Linked DNA regions of Homo sapiens: regions 1, 2, 3, 4, 5 and 7 are each linked to region 6. The links are contacts of gene promoters, found by promoter capture Hi-C in blood cells and fetal thymus (Javierre and others, 2016). All regions are on one chromosome and are shown on one strand. The core of a region is centred on a gene start or on the middle of the fragment in contact, and the rest is flanking DNA. Distances in the headings are between cores, read along the strand shown.

Evidence for each region. The method cuts DNA at HindIII sites, captures the fragments that hold promoters and counts their contacts. A CHiCAGO score of 5 or more calls a contact.
Region 1: a fragment that was not itself captured here is called in contact with the fragment with the promoter of FAM133B in region 6 in 6 of 17 cell types (naive CD8 T cells, non-activated CD4 T cells, total B cells and 3 more); the score reaches 8.2 in naive CD8 T cells.
Region 2: a contact is called between a fragment that was not itself captured here and the fragment with the promoter of FAM133B in region 6, in 1 of 17 cell types (neutrophils). The highest score is 5.1, in neutrophils.
Region 3: a fragment that was not itself captured here is called in contact with the fragment with the promoter of FAM133B in region 6 in 3 of 17 cell types (non-activated CD4 T cells, total CD8 T cells and naive B cells); the score reaches 6.1 in non-activated CD4 T cells.
Region 4: a contact is called between a fragment that was not itself captured here and the fragment with the promoter of FAM133B in region 6, in 2 of 17 cell types (naive CD8 T cells and naive B cells). The highest score is 5.8, in naive CD8 T cells.
Region 5: a fragment that was not itself captured here is called in contact with the fragment with the promoter of FAM133B in region 6 in 1 of 17 cell types (neutrophils); the score reaches 5.2 in neutrophils.
Region 7: a contact is called between a fragment that was not itself captured here and the fragment with the promoter of FAM133B in region 6, in 1 of 17 cell types (fetal thymus). The highest score is 5.4, in fetal thymus.

The regions. Positions count from the first base shown.
Region 1 is chr7:91,882,307-91,885,006 of GRCh38, reverse strand. The region is part of intron 1 of LOC112267986 (a long non-coding RNA gene); the gene reads right to left. Among named protein-coding and RNA genes, the nearest start is that of MTERF1, 3.0 kb to the right of the region's middle. The HindIII fragment of the contact is 4,536 bases long and covers 1-2,700 here.
Region 2 is chr7:93,245,812-93,248,511 of GRCh38, reverse strand. All of the region lies in intron 2 of VPS50 (VPS50 subunit of EARP/GARPII complex), which reads right to left. Among named protein-coding and RNA genes, the nearest start is that of VPS50, 15 kb to the right of the region's middle. The HindIII fragment of the contact is 9,468 bases long and covers 1-2,700 here.
Region 3 is chr7:93,151,854-93,154,553 of GRCh38, reverse strand. No RefSeq gene overlaps it. Among named protein-coding and RNA genes, the nearest start is that of SAMD9L, 4.8 kb to the right of the region's middle. The HindIII fragment of the contact is 1,133 bases long and covers 721-1,853 here.
Region 4 is chr7:93,194,168-93,196,867 of GRCh38, reverse strand. HEPACAM2 (HEPACAM family member 2) reads left to right here. Exons shown (of 10, transcript NM_001039372.4): 8 at 967-1,040. Among named protein-coding and RNA genes, the nearest start is that of HEPACAM2, 31 kb to the left of the region's middle. The HindIII fragment of the contact is 1,701 bases long and covers 524-2,224 here.
Region 5 is chr7:93,270,047-93,272,746 of GRCh38, reverse strand. It overlaps VPS50 (VPS50 subunit of EARP/GARPII complex), which reads right to left. Exons shown (of 28, transcript NM_017667.4): 10 at 1,485-1,527; 11 at 14-112. Among named protein-coding and RNA genes, the nearest start is that of VPS50, 39 kb to the right of the region's middle. The HindIII fragment of the contact is 2,497 bases long and covers 42-2,538 here.
Region 6 is chr7:92,589,090-92,591,789 of GRCh38, reverse strand. FAM133B (family with sequence similarity 133 member B) reads left to right here and starts at 1,400. Exons shown (of 11, transcript NM_152789.4): 1 at 1,400-1,522. The coding sequence starts at 1,499. RefSeq lists enhancers at 1,243-1,522, 1,613-1,672. The HindIII fragment of the contact is 8,062 bases long and covers 1-2,563 here.
Region 7 is chr7:93,132,051-93,134,750 of GRCh38, reverse strand. SAMD9L (sterile alpha motif domain containing 9 like) reads left to right here. Exons shown (of 5, transcript NM_152703.5): 5 at 1-2,700. Among named protein-coding and RNA genes, the nearest start is that of SAMD9L, 15 kb to the left of the region's middle. The HindIII fragment of the contact is 725 bases long and covers 933-1,657 here.

The DNA.
Region 1 (2,700 bases), core at 31-2,530, 710 kb after region 6:
TTATACAACAAAATGAGTTAATAGAGGTGAAATGATTAGAATTGTGCATGGCAGATAGCATTACATAAATGTTTTCAAATATTATTTTTCTCTCCATGTACTTTCTCTTAAAATTCCTAGTTTTTGGATGTCTTTAATATAGTAATCAACAAATGAAGTTAGTTATATGTGAGTAGTTCACTATCGTTTTTAATGCAGGTCTTAGCACACTATGGCCCGTGGCCCAGCAGCCCCCAAGCTAAGAATGGTTTTTATACTTTTAATGGGTTGTGAAATATGGAAAGAAAAAAGAGAATTTGCAACAGAGACAGTATGTGACCCACAAAGCCTGAAATACTATTTGGTCCTTTATAGGAAAAGGTTGCTGACCTTTGGCTTAATATGCTTTCCCTTTCAAATACATTTGCAATTTTAAATCAGCACAGTTTATACCAAGGACTAAATCTCTAAAGGAGGAATTTCAAGAAACGCCTTAAATAGAAAGGAAAATAGTTTTCGACAGTGAAAATAGTATTTCATCTTGTGAATGTTTGCTCCCCTCCTCTCTGTTGAGACTAATTTTTCTACCAATGACTAAGAATCATTTCACGGTAATTAATTGAAGGTTTGGTACAGTAGGATCAAACAATCCAAAAGGTACTTAAACTCACCAGGCTAAATAGCATCTCAAATGATTATTGTGTTTCTCTTGGCCAACTCTGTCAGGCTGATCCAACTACCATGGGAATTGCTGTCATATCAGGTCTGGAATCAGCAAATTTGCTAGGCTAAGTATCCAGTTCTTTGCCACAGACCCTTGTGGTAATGAGTGTGGGAGCATGAAAGCTGACTCAGGAAGTCTTTAGGCACACTTCAGAGAAATAAAGTTGCCTGAAGTAAAATCTTTAGAAATCTTAAATTGTTAAAAAGCAATTGTGAAAAGGGGGGAAATTAAGCAATCTTTTTTATTTTTTGCCAACAAAGTGTTAACCTGAGACTCTCTGGGTAACTTTATCTACCACTTTAATTAGCCTTGAACAACTGGGAGACATTTTATGCTTTTGGCAACCAAAACAGCTGCAGGCAAGAGAATGGAATAAGGGAGTCCTGGGTAGAGACCTGATGGTCCTCTGAGGGCCCTCAAGTAAGTCACATAGGAAGCTAGCAGGTCTGTCTGTGAAGTTGATGTGGGGGTGGGGCAGGCATTTGTCTACTGAATCCAGGAGTCTGCGGGTGTTGTATCAACTGAAGGTAAGAGTGGGAGGAATGAAGGGCCACTTTCTTTTTGACCTTAATTGGGCTTGCTGAGATTCAAACATGAATGAATGGTCAATTGAGGGGCTGTGGTTTGCCAGAAATCTATTTGCATAAAGCAAGAAGGACACTTCCAGGGCAGAGGAACAGGCACATTTGGCACAGTCAAAAAATTCTTAATTATAAAAGGCAGAGGCACTTCTGAATACAGCACAGATTCTGTCTTCAGACTTGACTTTCAGCCCAGCTTCTGAGTATCTAAGTCCAACGTGTTGGGATTACAGGTGTGAATCACTACACTCAGCCACTTTATTTTTCTTAATTACATCAACTTGGTAGGGACATGGGTCTGCTATGGTCCTGGGGAAGGAGATGGAAGAGGCATGTAGAGGAGAAGACATTCAGGCTGAGAGTAAGACCTGCCACTAGAAATAAGGTCCAGGAAGGCAGGGGCTTTGTCTTGGTTTCCACTATGTCCCCTAACTTGAAAACAGGGCCTGGAATGTGAAGGTGCTGAAAAAATGTTCATTGAATAAACAAATGAAATACAGGCAAAGTATATACAGGTCCTATTGTAAAACATCATAAAGGACGATGAGGCAGTAGTCATTTCTCTTACTGGAGGTAATGACATTTCAAAAATCACTGAAGAAATACAATAAGAAAGAAACCTAATTAATTATACAACATCCTAACCCAACCATTATTACACTTCTATTGTTATACTTTCAGTATTTTATAATATGCAATTAAAATAGATTTATAATCAGAAAATTTCTGATGGGAAATATGGAACTTATTTTCAAAAGAACCAATCTGCCTTTACCGACAAAATATCACTAAAAACCAACATAGGTGATGTTACCTAAGTAAGTCTGAAATAATTATTGATAGCTAAATCAATACAACAAAGTATGTGGTATAAATCTTAGAGTTACTGGTAAAGAAAATATAAGACATGCATTCTCTTGCTAGTTCCTACTGTATGGGTTTCAGTGTTCTCATTTGTAAAATGAGAGGGCTGGGGCTCAATAATCTCAAAGGTTATTTTATTTAATTTAATCTCTAAATTTTATTTTACATGCCGATTGTAAAGCAGTTTGTGTGTGTGTATATACATAATATATAATAATATTAATTCAGACATAGGAGCTCCTTCCATGCAGAAGGAATATAGATTTTAGAAATTCACATTTTAAAAGCCATCTCCAATTTTTTGGGACTAATTTTTACCTGGAGGAATTGCAGTAAGTAGTTTACTTAATAGATAGACTGATTATTAGTATTTTAAATTCCCAAAGATAAATCTTTATCCTTCTAAACCAACAAAACAGAGAGTTAATTAAAAACAAAGTGACAACAACAACCCAACTAGGAGTAGTCAAAGGGGAAGAGTGATGGTAAAACGTAATTGGTTCATTGGCATAGAAATGGGATAAACACGCCGGGTGCGGTAGCTCACGCCTG
Region 2 (2,700 bases), core at 72-2,571, 660 kb before region 6:
ATAACGATGTGAACTGATTTAGGAATATTTTACACATGTAAATTAGAAAAATAAACAGAAGCAACCAGATTGCCTATTCTTAACACAATTACTACATAATTTAATAGAAACTGATTCCCTAGGGTGGGAGATGTACAAAAATACATAATTCTTCACCTAAAATAGAACCAATACATAGGTGTGAGCCCAAATTTTACATAAACAAAATGAACAAAAAGTTTCCTATAAAAAAATTACAAGGCAAAATTGGGGGAAATGAATACCAAATGGAACTTCTTACACCATACTTAAACATATGATTTAAGAAAAAAATTATAATAATATTAGATATTCAAACTAAGTCTAGGATAAAATATTTCAGTCTTAAAAATGTTTAAAATATTTTTATAATAAATTTTATGTCACATAATAATTAATAAATACATAGTATCATTAATAGTGATATAAATGCTCTCTAAAACTTGAAAGTCCAAAAATAATTTGTCAACTACAGGCTACCAAATGTGCTGCCACACAACTTGCTGTCAATGGTAATCAACTAAGCAAAAAGTATTATCAGCATTACCCCAGAATTAAAGCTGGAGAAAAAAACTACAATTAAAGTAATGAATTGGAATAACAAAGAGGAGAAAACAAAAGCATAAAAGGCAAAAAATGAACAAATCAAATCTCTCTCCCATACTATCATTAGAAACTAACCTGCCTACTTTCAAAGCTCTATAACCTTATCTTCCCCTAAAAAACAAATTTCATTTAACAATTTTTTAAATTCCCATTATGTAAAAATTTCCCATACTAGGTCATACAGGAACGAAAATGAGTAAAATATAGCTCTTCCCTCAAACAGTTGTTAAAATAATAGGAGGGGTCAGATGAATAAGTAAGCAATGACAATGCACAGCAGAACATGAGGGTGATGCAAACAGAATGAAGGCATCAGACGGTGGGTTCACATCTGATGGAAGTGGTGGCATTTGGAAAATATGAGAGAATAGGTAGAATTTCAGATTTAGAAATTGGGAGAATAGGGTTACAAATATAAAGCAAAGCAAAAGTAAAAATATTGAATCGAGAAAGTGCACAACAGGTTAAAGCAATAAAGGGTGGCTTCCGCAGGATAGAAAAATGTCACAAGGGAGAGTCTGCATGTATGCCAAAAGACAAATGCAACAACTGAGATTTGTTTAAATTCAACATATTTTTTGTATATTAGAACCATATTTTCTTCACTAAAAGTAAAACATCTTAACACATATCACTGCCTCAGGTTAGGCTATATCAAAAACAGGCAAAAATATTCAATATTTTCTTAATGTAATAAACCAAGCAGAATTCAACGTTTTAGAGGCTGTGTTTTTCCAGCAGTCACAACATGCAATAAGGTTGCATATAATACCACCTAGTCTATTTTTCTATTTTGATCATGTCTGAGATAAAGCTACATGAACATGTACATAAATGTACATCAGAAATATAACTTTATGAAAAGTGAAGAAAAACAATCATATTAGAGATTTAAGTCAACATCTTTGATTTAGCAAAGCTACTTTTCCTCTCAATACAACAAAAAAGGTATTATGGGAATTGGGGATTCAGCTATGTAAAACAATTTGAGCCCTCAAATGTAAGGTATTATGATACATTCCCAGTATGTTTGTGGTTTCTAAGGAACTAGGCTATAACTTTACCAAAAAATTTTCCACTTAAGAGTTCATCACTCAAGGGAATATATTCAAGTTTAGGAGGAAAAAAAGAGAGACTACTAATTTTGTATTTAATCACTACTTTTAAATTATCTAAAATACCACACTAATTAAAAATACTAATCCAAATTCAGGGCTCTTAATTCTATTCACTTTTATAAAAAGTTATGACAGCTTAACAGTTTTCCTTACCATTATTAAACTCAATATTTTCTGCAATTTTGAAAAGTAATTTAACCTAATTTCTAAACCCACATAACAGCTTGGAATCTCATAATCTTCAGTACTAGTTTTTATTCAAACAAAAATATGAATGCAAATCTTTACTTCACAGGTCAGATTTCAAAACTCTGAAAAAAATATATAGAATAAAAAATGAAATGCACACCAACTCCTCTTTCTGTACTTAGCTCATTAGACCAGTCCACATTATACACCTGATTATATAACTCAGTGGCAGAATATAGTGCTTATATAGCTGATTATATAACTCAATGGCAGAATGCAGTGTATGTGTGTGTGTGTGTTGAGAAGGAAAGTGGAGAAATTTTACAAGCATGATTTGCGGTTTGCCACAGCAAATCTTTGATCAAAGACTTTTTTTTACTGTTTGCATTTCTTCATTCGTCAACATAAAAAATCTATTCTGTTATAGGGAAAACGGAAGCTATAATCTTACCAAAGTTAACATCACGTTAGGGCTCTAACTGAAAGCAAAAAAAAAAAGAAGCGTTTAGTGACCAAAATCTAAACAGAGCTAGAAGTAAGAACAAAACATGAAGTTTTCAATATTCAGTCAGTATTACAAAAGTCATTAATCACTGAACAGAAATAGATTTTATCTCTTTCCAAATGAAACAGGATTCAAAACTTATTTCAAGATCACAGATACCCTAAAACCACATGCCACGTAAGTTTATAATGAATGGCCAGATGTCTGATTACATGAGGAAATGGCACGTTCTCCTAAAATCCCACTAGAACAACAATAATAATC
Region 3 (2,700 bases), core at 38-2,537, 560 kb before region 6:
TTTTGAGAGAGAAAGACAAAGCTAAATAAAACCTAGATTACTGGGCATTGTACATTGCCTATTTGAAGTTACATGCTTTCCGGCCTGGGAAATTTCTCAAATATTAAATTTATATATTTTTAAATACATATAGAAAAAAAAGAAAGGCAGTAAACAACAGGAAATAGATATTGTATTTGGATAACATAGGTTTTCTCCCTTCTTTGTATATTCTGTATTTTTTAAGTTTGAAAATAAACTTTTATTATAGTCACAGTTGAAGAAATAATGATATTTAGCTTTACTGAGGTATAATTGATTCAGAAAAACATTGTACACATTTAATATATACATCCTGATATCTATAACCTCCAAAAAAAAGTTTTAGTTTTCAAAGAAAATGAAATCAATGGTGAATCAGCAAGCAGAAATTTAATGGCACTGTATTAATTTGCCAAGGCTGCCATAACAAAGTACCACAGACTGAGTAGCTTAAGCCACAGAAGATTAAGTGAAGATTAGTAAGTGTTCAATTTAAGAAAGCATTGAGTGAGCTTGTCTTGCATTCCTACACAAAAAGTACAACTGCAATATATTCCACAACAGCAAAGCAAAATAAGTAAAATCATTCCAAGTAAACTAAACAGGGAAGCTTTCCAAAAACTGGGAAGTTGTTGGAACCAAGTCGATAAAGGGTCAACTGATGGTACATCGATGTCAGAGAGATGAGTGTCTAAAGCTTTCACAGGCTAGGTAATAGTCTGGAACATAATAAAGTCCCCCACAAACTTAAGCTGGCCGATTGAATATGTCAGAGCAACCCAGAAGTGGAGGAAAGTGGCAATTCTCCACCTACCCAACAGTTTGACTGATTATGTAGAGGCTAAAGTCTGTGCCCACTCAGTAAATAAGTTACTCTCTGCATGATTCCAACTTATACCCAAAAGTAGATTGTCAATCTATATTTTTCTGTAACCCTTCCCTTTCATTTCTTCCAAACAGGAGTCAGAGGTCACTGATTCACTCACAGGAATAAACAGGATCAGTCTCTTGTGTTCCACAGGTCTGTGGGACTTCGTAAGAGTCAGGTTTAATTTGAGGTAAGTGGACCCAGCTGTTTATTCCCAGGAGTTTAGCTGCAGTTGGGCTACTAAGGAATTCATAGGGCTGAAGATGTGTTTTGGGTAATTGTTGCTGTGAAAGATGGGCCATTATCATTCTGTAAGCTCTTAGGCAGCACAAATCTGGGAATTATTTCCTTTAGTAGGAGCTTAGAAACTTCAATTGCCTTTTCAGACCAGATAGAAAAAGCCTCAATTCAACCAGTAAAGGTGTCAACGAATACTAATAAATAGTTAAACCCTTTACATTGGACTATCTGAGTACAGTCTATTTGCCAATCTTCACCAAGGTACATTTCTCTGTGCCGAACAGGCCTTACTAGAGGAGGAGGTAAAGATCGGTTATTTGGGTTATTCTGGGCACATAGTTCACAGGCCTGAGTCACCTGCTTTGCTGTTTTAAGTAAGTCTTTTCCTACAAAAAGCTGTGACATTGATTGATACAGGGAATCGCTTCCCAAATGAGTAGAGTCATGCAAATGCTTAACTATTTTCCAGTGATTAGCACCTGGTGTCAACAGTTTGTTATCATTGATAAGCCAGCCAGAATGATCTTCAATTAAACCCTGACCTTCAATGGACCTTCAGTCCATTCCTCTTCCTCTTTAATATATCTTGGTTCTGTTATTATCATGGCTGGGGGCTCCTTTAACACTGTGGCCTTAGCAGCTGCATCTGCAAAGGAGTTTCCCTTAGTCACACTAAGGGAAGAGCCTCTTTTCTCAGCTCACTGCAACCTCCACCTGCCAAGCTTAAGCAATTCTTCTGCCTCAGCCCCCTGAGGAGCTGGGATTACAGGCACCTGCCACAATGCCCGGCTAATTTTTTTTGTATTTTTAGTAGAGACGGGGTTTCACCATGTTGGCCAGGCTGGTCTCGAACTCCTGACCTCAAGTGATCCACCCCCCCCCCTTCCCAATCCCCACTCCTAAGCCTCCCAAAGTGCTGGGATTACAGGCATGAGCCACCGTGCCTGGCCCAGAATTTCTAAGTGATGTTTTATAGGGGAACCCTTAGCAGTTAGGAGTCCCTATTCCTTCCAGATAGCAGCATGAGCATGAAGTATCAGGAAGGCATACTTAGAATCAGTGAAATGTTAATTCTTAAGTCCTTTCCCAATTGCAGGGCTCTAATAAGAGCTATTAATTCCGCCTTTTGAGCTGAGGTAGAAGCTGGTAAGGCCTGAGATTCGATTACCTCGTGTTGACTGTCAACGGCATACCCAGCTTTCCCATCTCCCTGGTGCACAAAGCTACTTCCATCTGTAAACCATACTGCCTCAAGATTATCTAGAGGCTTATCCTTTAAATCTGGACAGCTGGAGTAAACTTGCAGCATAACTTATATACAAGAATAATGTACGATACTTGTGGGTTCAGGCAAATAGGTAGCTGGATTCAACATATGGCATACTTTAAGTGTTATATCAGGATGTTTAGCAACAAAGGCTGATATTTACTCACAGGAAAGAAGAAGGAGCAATTTCAGTCTGCCTTATGATTTCCAAAAGATAGTACTCTTCGCAGCTGAGTTAACAAATCCCTTCCCAACAAGGGGTGGGGCATTCAGGAGAAAAGCAAGGTCCCTGAAGAGCAGCTTA
Region 4 (2,700 bases), core at 125-2,624, 610 kb before region 6:
AGGTAGGTTTCATGCTGGCAGCTCCATCCCAAAGAGAAGAGGAAAAGAAGATTTGGCAGGGGCCAGGATTGCTTCTTTGTCCCCACTGTAACCCTCATTATCATCAATATTGACTGTACTGACTTATTATAAGTTAACAAAGTTTTGGCTCAGGCCACAAAATCACAGGGAGCCAAGTTTCAGTTTTATTTCCCCTCATGTCACCTTAGGAAAATTATTTTTCTTAACCGCAACTTCCTCTTCTATATAATAGGGATAAAAACTTCCCCCTTAAGGTTGCTATGAGAATTAAATAAAATGATATAGGTGGAGTGCCTGATATGATGCCTGGATGTGTAATAAATGTGGGCCTTCTTCCTCTTTTCTAGCCCTTCCTGACTTATAAGTGACAGAATGTCAGAGCTGGCAAGGGCCCCAGAGGCTATCTGGTTCCTCCTAACCACCTCCCCCGCCATCATTCTATAGATGATAGTTTATGTGGATTGATAGTGTAATGTATTTTACTTTTTATGTATGGGAAGCTTCAGTTAGCTATTTACTCTTTTTGTTCTGATGATCTGTTACATCTGTTAGATCTGTTAGATCTAACAGGGTGCAGTAGATATTACGGGTGGATCAAGAACTGGTGTGACCTTCAGGCTTAAACCCTGGTGACCATGAGTCTCTGGTAACTGCAAGTTACAAAGGCCAAGGTTGCCCACCTGTGTGTATTTAAAGATGTAACAGGCTATTCTCACGTCTGGCTTTAAGAATAATTGTTCCAATTCAGTTTCGATTCTCAGCTTCAGAAAGAGTGATTTCCAACACTGCTTAATGGCAATACGACTATAGGAATTAGGAAATGTTAAATTCATTTTGTACCTATACCATTTAAAACAGACAATAAAGATAAGTTTTACAAAGGTTTAAAAAACAACAGCAAATCAAGGCATTCGGTTTGTAAGCAGTATTTGTTTTACATTTCAGGCCATGAAGATGCTCTGGATGACTTCGGAATATATGAATTTGTTGCTTTTCCAGATGTTTCTGGTGTTTCCAGGGTTGGTTTTCCTAGTGGCTGATTAACCGAGAAGTAGAATTCTGCTTCACCAGAGGTGTAAAAAGCATTTGTTTAAGCACTGGGCAGTGTGGTCAAATGGCTGCATTACCCATTACTGCATTAAGCAGTGTTGACTTACTCCGTAATGAATGGCATTGCCAGATTTGGGAAGCTAAAGCATCTTACTTCGCCTTTATAAGTAAAGCTAACACAAATAAGGAAGTTATGCTAATTCATAAATAGTCTTTACCTGGTAATCTCAGTGAAGAGAGAACTAACTAGGTTGAAAGTCAAGAGAACTGAATAAACAAGCTGGGCGTGGTGGCTCACATCTGTATTCCTAGGGCTTTGGGAGGCTGAGATGGAAAGATCACTTGAGCCCAGGAGTTTGAGATCAGCCTGGGCAAAGACCCCATCCCAACAAATATTTAAAAATTAGCCAAGCATGGTTATGCATGCCTCTGGTCCCAGCTTCTTGGGAGACCGAGGCAGGAGGATCATTGAGCCCAGGAGTTCAAGGCTACAGTGAGCCGTGATCACACTACCGCACTCCAGCCTGGGCAGCAGAGTAAGACCCTGTCTCAAATAAATAAATACTGAATAAACAGCGGATCAGGAGACCCTAATTTAAGTCATTCTGCATCACTTGGGTGACTGCAACCCATCACTTTACTAAACTCTCTCTGTTCCTCAGTTTTCCCTTTATTGCCCCCTCATATCTTTTGACAACATTGCAAAGACAATTGATCACACCCTTGAAGATACCTCATGCTTCAGAAGGAAGTTACCATATAGGCCCAAAGTATGCAAGTATACATCTTTATTATTGCCCTAAAGGTGCATGAGATGGCAAAGGAGCTTTCATATAGTTGAAGTCATTTCAGTCCGGAAAAAAAAAAAAAAAAAAGATCTTTTAAAGTAATCAGTTTTTCTTAACAGACATGCAGAATGTTTCTGTGAGCAAATCAGATTATTAACATTTTTATAGATTTGTATAGAACCAAGTTTTCCTCTGCTTCCTTATTCTGCTATGAGAGTCCATTTGAGGAAGGGCACCATAAAAACAGATTACTTGCTTCCAGGCATTCTCATTTCCATTTGTTAAAAAGACTATTTGCCATTAGGGAATCGTGACTTCTCTTGTTCAGAGGATTCTATCAGTGTATAAGGTTCATCTAGTAAGCTTCCTCGCCACAGAGTTTATTTGAGAAATGTCATGTGAGTAATGGAGAGGGACTGATTGGATTTCATCCTCCCTAAGGGTGAGTCAGTAACAGTCACAGATGAAGCAAAGAACTACTGTGCAAAGGCTTTGCAATACCCTATTCAATCTCAGGCAGGATTGGCTCACCTTCACTTCCACAACCAAAAGACAAAAACAAATATTTGATGGATCAGTTATTTCAAACAGCTTCTCACGATGGTAGAAAGCACCACTCTGAGGTGTGGCTTCAAATTGGAGAGCAGGAAACTGAAGAGCTAAGACTTATAATTGAATTTTTGAATAAGGAGTTTCAGTTTTTTTATTTAAAATAATGCAAACATTTATTCCTAGGAATTCACTGGAAAGGAGTGAGATTTATGTAAGAAATTTTAAATCTTACCATGTGATTAATCACTACTCAATTTTGGAGTTTTACTGGGAGGACCTCAATTGGCTC
Region 5 (2,700 bases), core at 41-2,540, 680 kb before region 6:
TTTTGTAACAAACCTGTGTTTTTCCAAGAAGTCGATAAGCTTGTTGAACCTTGGTATAATGGTTAATGTCAAAATTCTTGCAGATTTTGGAAAGAGCTACGTCCAGCTGTTCCTATATAATTAAAAGAAGAAGCAAGACATGGTTAAGGAATTATGTTTTCAAGGCAATGAGAAGAAAACATTAAGACTAATTTCTCACTTTTAGTTAACATTTAAATACATTTACTATCATACCAGATTTAGAAGTCAAAAACAAATTTAAATAAAGTTATAAATTGCAATTGTAAATTTATTAGCAACTATAATCAAGTTTACCAAGATATTAACATGTGAATTTCTATGCCTTAAAACCCATGCCTAGTGTTTTACAGGAAACAAAATAATAGTTTTGTAATGAATCTTACTCTTACTACTACTTAATGTTTCCTCAAGCATCTGCTAAAATCTTATATAAACTGAATTTGTGGGACTACTGGAGAACAATAAAACAATCTTTCTCTAATCAACGAAAAGGAATTCTCAACAAAACTACATTGAATTTAAAAGTATATTCCTCAAGGTTTAAGCTCTTTTATCTAAATTACCATGCTTTATGGATTTCTTTTTCAATGATTTTACTTTGAAATAAGAGTTTTTAATATAAATACAGAATAATATCTATTAAAAGTGAAGAAATCCTGGGCTCTCAAAAGAAAGCCTTCATTAAAATATTCAGGGAATTGTTAACTTAAGCCACTCAAAGCAGTTGTTTCTGTGACTATCAAATAAACTGTCATTCTCACAATTATTTAATAGCAAATAATTGCATTTGTGGTCAAAAATTACTTTCTCAAAAGGTAATTTGAAAGTCCAATCTCAACTTTTATAAATACTCTTATCAGGAAAACAATAAAAGACTAGAAGAAACCAAATACAAATAATTCTTATTTATTAAAATGAATACCCTCCTTTGCAAAGATTGTCAAGGAAAGAGATGAATTTTGAATATATGTAACAGGCAAAACATGCTTCATGCTCATAATTACATATCTCTTCCTTTTTAGTTTCTACGTTTTTGATGAACTATGTGAGTATCATTATGAGGTTTAGGAATTTTGGAGGGTTTTCATCAGCCAATAATTACTTACAGGTAAATTAACTCACTATACTAAACAATAAAGTAACTGATAATTAAAATATAATTAATACATAGAAAGTATTTTGGCTATTATATAATTTATATGAGAACACACCTATGACTAATAGTTTGGAAATTTTTCTTGGAAATGGCAATATTTTCAAATGCTGTTTTGAGATCCCATAATTTACAAGTAAATTTTTACACTAACTTGACCATAAATAGATATTCCAAATGAAAATCAAGAAATACAGTGATCTAGAGACATTGGTAATAACATAAAAGCCAAAACACAATGTTGCACCTAGGCTATTCAAAAACTTCTGAAAAGAAAAACTCATTAAGGTTAGGATATAATACTTCTTACCTCAATCTGTTCCAAAGTATCTTGCAGCTTTGAATTCAGTTCACTATTAAAAAAAAAAAAAACAGTTTTTTTCTATTTCTGAGACAAACTAAGTGCTAAATAAATACATACTAACTGAATAATTAATCCATAAATTCAAAGATTAAGAGTATAGATCGTAAGACATGCTGCTGAATTCTACATATAGACAATGCAATAAGAAAAAGTATTAGAAGGGAATAAGAGTCATTAGCAGCAGCAACAGGATTGCGTGAGTAGAAAGAAAGAATCTACAGATAAAAATAAAAAAACTGAAGAATTAAAATTGGTAACTTTTACATAAACAGTGTGTCTATATAAACAATGTTTGTGTGTTTAACAGCCAATTGAATATCCTCTTTCTCAGTGATCTGAAGACTTTTGCCCTTTATTTTTATTCTATCTGTCCCAAGTGTATTGGTCATTCAGGAAATGCAAATTAATACTATAAAAACACTGTAACGAATGAAAAAAATGGCTAAAAATATTTTTAAAAAATTAAAAATGACACCACCAAATGTTGGCAAGGACGTTGAGCAAACAGAACCACTCATCTGATGCTAGAGGAAGGGGAAACTGATATAACCTCTTGGAAAACCCTAATATCTACTGAAACAACACACACTCTACCTCCCAGCAGGTCTAGTCCTGGATACATACTGAACAGAAAAGCACACAGAATCCTTGCAGCATTATTTTTAATAGGCAAAAACCTGAGGCAACACAATTGTCTAGAATAATTAGATAAGCAAAATGTGATACATTCATAAAATAAAATCCTATAGCAATTAAAATTTATGTGAACCACAAAAATATGTTTGGCAAAAGAAGTCAGTAAAAAATAGTATATACTGTATGCTTCCATTTATTTAAAGTTCTAAACAAGCAAAACTAATTTTGGTGACAGAAGCCAGAACAGCGCTTACCTTAGAAGAATGACTGGGATGAGACATGCGAGAAGTTTGTGGGGTGTCAGAAATACTCTGTTTCTACTTCTAGGTGGTAATTACATAACTATGTTTACTTTATAAAAGCTTACTGAGTTATACTCATACACTTAGGACACGTGATTGAATCTAGATTTTTCCCCCTTTAATTCTTACGAGGTCAGTAAAAAAAAAAAATCAATAGAACTAACATTATTTGAATTTTATCTCACTACTAAAAAGGATGTGATGTCTAACAAAATAAATGCAAT
Region 6 (2,700 bases), core at 151-2,650:
CTTAAGTCGGGGGTAATGGAGGAGGAGGAGAAATGAGAGACTGGAGGCCTCATTTTGGAAAGTGGGTTACTGAGGAAGAATCAACACTTAGTAGGGAGCAGAACCACCAAGGACTGCATGTGAGAGTTTGGAAAAGTTTTGAGACAGAAGATGGTAGTTGGGAGCATCTGTCATATAGTGTAGCATGAAAAATGCAGGGAGGGAGGGAGGCAGAGATCGGGAAAGATGATTTTAAAGCATGTTCTTGTATGTAATTAGTGTAATTCCCATTTTGCCATTTCCAAGAGTCCGGAGAAGATCCTAATTGATTTTCAACTACTTCCTAATGATACTTGCTAAGATGAACCCAGAGGGGTCGCTTTATCTATAAATACTTACTAAATATGATTATCTTCTCTGGAGCCCAGATCATCTTCCTTAAAGTTGCAGTGCAGTAGTGCCAATATTACGATATGCTATGCAGTAAAGTTGGCCCTGTGTGTGTTTATTGCCCTTACGAGTTTATAAACAGGCTCCTTGACGATAGGGATTTTTCTTAATCATCTTTGTGCCCTACCCAGCTCCAGCTTCCAGCCACCCAGTTAGTGAAAACTGTACAAACTACATGTTCAAAAATTAGTGTGAAATGAATGCACAGGTGATGAATGAATGGGATTGAAATTAAAGGGTGATTTCGTTAGCAGCGTCTATGACAGCACTGCCTTTCCCCCCACCAGCTGATGGGCTCCGTGAGGGACCAAGGCTCTTTGGTCCTCACTTTGTCCCCAGCACTTGCACTCTGTCAAGCACAAAATAAGCATCGGGAGAATCTTTGTGTCCCCTCGAATGAGTATTTCAGTGTATCAAGAATGGAAGAAAGGCCAAGCGCAGTGGCTCATGCCTGTAATCCCAGCACTTTGGGTCGAGGCGGGCGGATCACTTGAGGTCAGGAGTTATAGACCAGCCTGGCCAACGTGGTAAAACCCTGTCTCTACTAAAAATACAAAAAATTTAGCCCGGCGTGTTGACGGCCGCCTGTAATCTCAGCTACTCGGGATGCTGAGGCAGGAAAATCGCTTGAACCCGGGAGGTGGAGGCTGCAGTGAGCCTAGATCGTGCCACTGCACTCCAGCCTGGGCGACGGAGCGAGAGTCTGTCTAAAAAAAAAAAAAAAAAAAAAAAAAAAAAAAAGAATGGAAGAAAGCAAAACAATCCAAGGCCAAACTGAAGCGAGCTGCCTTGGTGGGGCTCCGGTGCAGAAGCGCAGCGTCGCCTGCTCTTGGGTGCCTAATGAACGACCGGACTCCTGCAGGCGCTCCGCCAACTGCAGCGATCTCTGGAGCCGGCCTGTCCTCCACAGAGATAGGGGGCGCTGTAGCAGAGCGCGGCCGTCGAGTCCGCGTGGTGCCGCTCTCTAGGCGGAGTGGGGAGGCGGCAAGAGGACCTGCGGCAGGCCCTCTTCGGCAGTCTCTCCGGCCCGGTTTCCCTCGGCGTGCTACTGTGCGCTCGATCCAGCACCATGGGGAAGCGGGACAATCGGGTGGTGAGTACTCAGCCGGGAAAACAGTGGGGCGACGCAGGGCCCGGCGGCAGGACAGCGAGAACCCTCGCTGTTCCCGGCCGGGCCGGAGGGCAAGCGGCAGCCCTCAGACGTGGGGCCTGGAGACCCAGCACCCTCCGCCGATCCCAGATGCGCGTGCGCCGCGCACGCAGTTGGCGCTTTAGGGTTCCCAGCTCTCTCTTGCCCGCCCCTTTTTTCTTCCCTCACCTCGTCGCTCTTTCTGGCGCTGCTGGTTTGCACTCTTGCCTGCTGTACGCGGGCCCCCAGTGCCCACTTAGAACCGCGAGGGCTCGGGGAACCCCCCCCACACCTGGCCCCGCCATGTAACTCCGAAGACTTAGGCCCTTGGACGCATCCGACTCACCCGCCCCTTGGTATCGGCCGCCCCAGGTCCGCACCCCTCTCCTGCGCACCCAAGTGGGAGGGAGGCACAGAGGCCTCGACGCGGTCCCTGTGCCGGAGAGCCAGCAGCGCGCCTGGTTTTAGCGACAAGCAGGCTCCCGTTTGAAAATGGGATGGCAGCATTTGCTTTCGTGTCTCCAGCGCCCTGTAGGACCTGGCCCCCATAGACACTGTGAGGGAATGAATGGCGTGAAAATAGTTGGCTTTCGAGTCCAACACAAAACTGGAATGTCAGTTTTGTTCCGTCGGAAGTTGGGTGACCTAGAACAAGTTACTTTTCTTCTCTGTGCCGTCGTTTATAAAAGGGGATCATTATTATCTACAACCTTACAGATTAATTGAAATCACAAAAGGCAAGATGTGTGAGCGAGTACTGGGCATGAAAATTATTACTCTAGTGAATGAGATAAAAGAGATGCATAAATAACTTACAGCAGAAAGAGTAGGAAATGGTCCTTGATAGTTGTTAGAGATTCTAAAGGCATTCAAAAGAAAAGGTGCTTTTGAGAAGCGGAGATGGGAGGAAAGTATTCTAGACCGCTGGGGCGGGGAGGGGGCTGAAAAACTCAGGTTATGAATCAGATTGAATGAGTAGTAAACATAATGAAATAACAATAAGCTTAGGTTGCAGCCTGACAATTTCTGGGCTTGCCTGTGACAAAGTTTTAGCCACTGAGTAGCAAAATGAGGAAAATGCACGTAAAACGAATGTGCTACGTTTCTTGAACTCGCTTTTTTATTCAACAATTATTTGCAAG
Region 7 (2,700 bases), core at 46-2,545, 540 kb before region 6:
TCACTGGATAATTCATACTATGACTGGTACATTCTTGTAACAAATAAATGCCATCCAAACCAAATAAAGCACTTAGATTTTTTAAAAGAAATTAAATGGTTTGCTGTGTTGGAGTTTGATCCTGAATCTATGATCAATGGAGTGGTCAAAGCTTACAAAGAAAGTCGGGTGGCAAACCTTCACTTTCCAAATCAATATGAAGACAAGACAACTAACATGTGGGAGAAGATTTCTACTCTTAATCTTTACCAACAGCCCAGCTGGATTTTCTGCAACGGCAGATCAGACCTGAAAAGCGAGACATATAAACCTCTAGAACCACATTTATGGCAGAGAGAAAGAGCTTCAGAAGTCAGGAAACTAATTTTATTTCTCACAGATGAAAATATAATGACAAGAGGAAAATTTTTGGTAGTGTTTCTATTACTCTCTTCAGTGGAAAGCCCAGGAGATCCACTCATTGAAACTTTCTGGGCTTTCTATCAAGCTCTCAAAGGAATGGAAAATATGTTGTGTATCTCTGTAAACTCACATATTTATCAACGATGGAAAGATCTACTACAAACAAGAATGAAGATGGAAGATGAACTAACAAACCACAGTATTTCCACTTTAAATATAGAACTGGTAAACAGCACTATCCTTAAACTAAAATCGGTGACTCGGTCATCAAGAAGGTTTTTGCCCGCCCGTGGATCTTCTTCAGTTATCCTAGAGAAAAAGAAAGAGGATGTCTTGACTGCACTGGAAATCCTCTGTGAAAATGAGTGTACAGAGACAGACATCGAGAAAGACAAATCTAAATTCCTGGAGTTTAAGAAATCAAAAGAAGAACACTTTTATCGAGGTGGCAAAGTATCCTGGTGGAACTTCTATTTTTCTTCTGAAAACTATTCTTCAGATTTTGTTAAAAGGGACAGTTATGAAAAGCTTAAAGATTTAATACACTGCTGGGCAGAGTCTCCTAAACCAATATTTGCAAAAATCATCAATCTTTATCATCATCCAGGCTGTGGAGGTACCACACTGGCTATGCATGTTCTCTGGGACTTAAAGAAAAACTTCAGATGTGCTGTGTTAAAAAACAAGACAACTGATTTTGCAGAAATTGCAGAGCAAGTGATCAATCTGGTCACCTATAGGGCAAAGAGCCATCAGGATTACATTCCTGTGCTTCTCCTTGTGGATGATTTTGAAGAACAAGAAAATGTCTACTTTCTACAAAATGCCATCCATTCCGTTTTAGCAGAAAAGGATTTGCGATATGAAAAAACATTGGTAATTATCTTAAACTGCATGAGATCCCGGAATCCAGATGAAAGTGCAAAATTGGCAGACAGTATTGCACTAAATTACCAACTTTCTTCCAAGGAACAAAGAGCTTTTGGTGCCAAACTGAAGGAAATTGAAAAGCAGCACAAGAACTGTGAAAACTTTTATTCCTTCATGATCATGAAAAGCAATTTTGATGAAACATATATAGAAAATGTAGTCAGGAATATCCTAAAAGGACAGGATGTTGACAGCAAGGAAGCACAACTCATTTCCTTCCTGGCTTTACTCAGCTCTTATGTTACTGACTCTACAATTTCAGTTTCACAGTGTGAAATATTTTTGGGAATCATATACACTAGTACACCCTGGGAACCTGAAAGCTTAGAAGACAAGATGGGAACTTATTCTACACTTCTAATAAAAACAGAAGTTGCAGAATATGGGAGATACACAGGTGTGCGTATCATTCACCCTCTGATTGCCCTGTACTGTCTAAAAGAACTGGAAAGAAGCTATCACTTGGATAAATGTCAAATTGCATTGAATATATTAGAAGAGAATTTATTCTATGATTCTGGAATAGGAAGAGACAAATTTCAACATGATGTTCAAACTCTTCTGCTTACAAGACAGCGCAAGGTGTATGGAGATGAAACAGACACTCTGTTTTCCCCATTAATGGAAGCTTTACAGAATAAAGACATTGAAAAGGTCTTGAGTGCAGGAAGTAGACGATTCCCACAAAATGCATTCATTTGTCAAGCCTTAGCAAGACATTTCTACATTAAAGAGAAGGACTTTAACACAGCTCTGGACTGGGCACGTCAGGCCAAAATGAAAGCACCTAAAAATTCCTATATTTCAGATACACTAGGTCAAGTCTACAAAAGTGAAATCAAATGGTGGTTGGATGGGAACAAAAACTGTAGGAGCATTACTGTTAATGACCTAACACATCTCCTAGAAGCTGCGGAAAAAGCCTCAAGAGCTTTCAAAGAATCCCAAAGGCAAACTGATAGTAAAAACTATGAAACCGAGAACTGGTCACCACAGAAGTCCCAGAGACGATATGACATGTATAACACAGCTTGTTTCTTGGGTGAAATAGAAGTTGGTCTTTACACTATCCAGATTCTTCAGCTCACTCCCTTTTTCCACAAAGAAAATGAATTATCCAAAAAACATATGGTGCAATTTTTATCAGGAAAGTGGACCATTCCTCCTGATCCCAGAAATGAATGTTATTTGGCTCTTAGCAAGTTCACATCCCACCTAAAAAATTTACAATCAGATCTGAAAAGGTGCTTTGACTTTTTTATTGATTATATGGTTCTTCTGAAAATGAGGTATACCCAAAAAGAAATTGCAGAAATCATGTTAAGCAAGAAAGTCAGTCGTTGTTTCAGGAAATACACAGAACTTTTC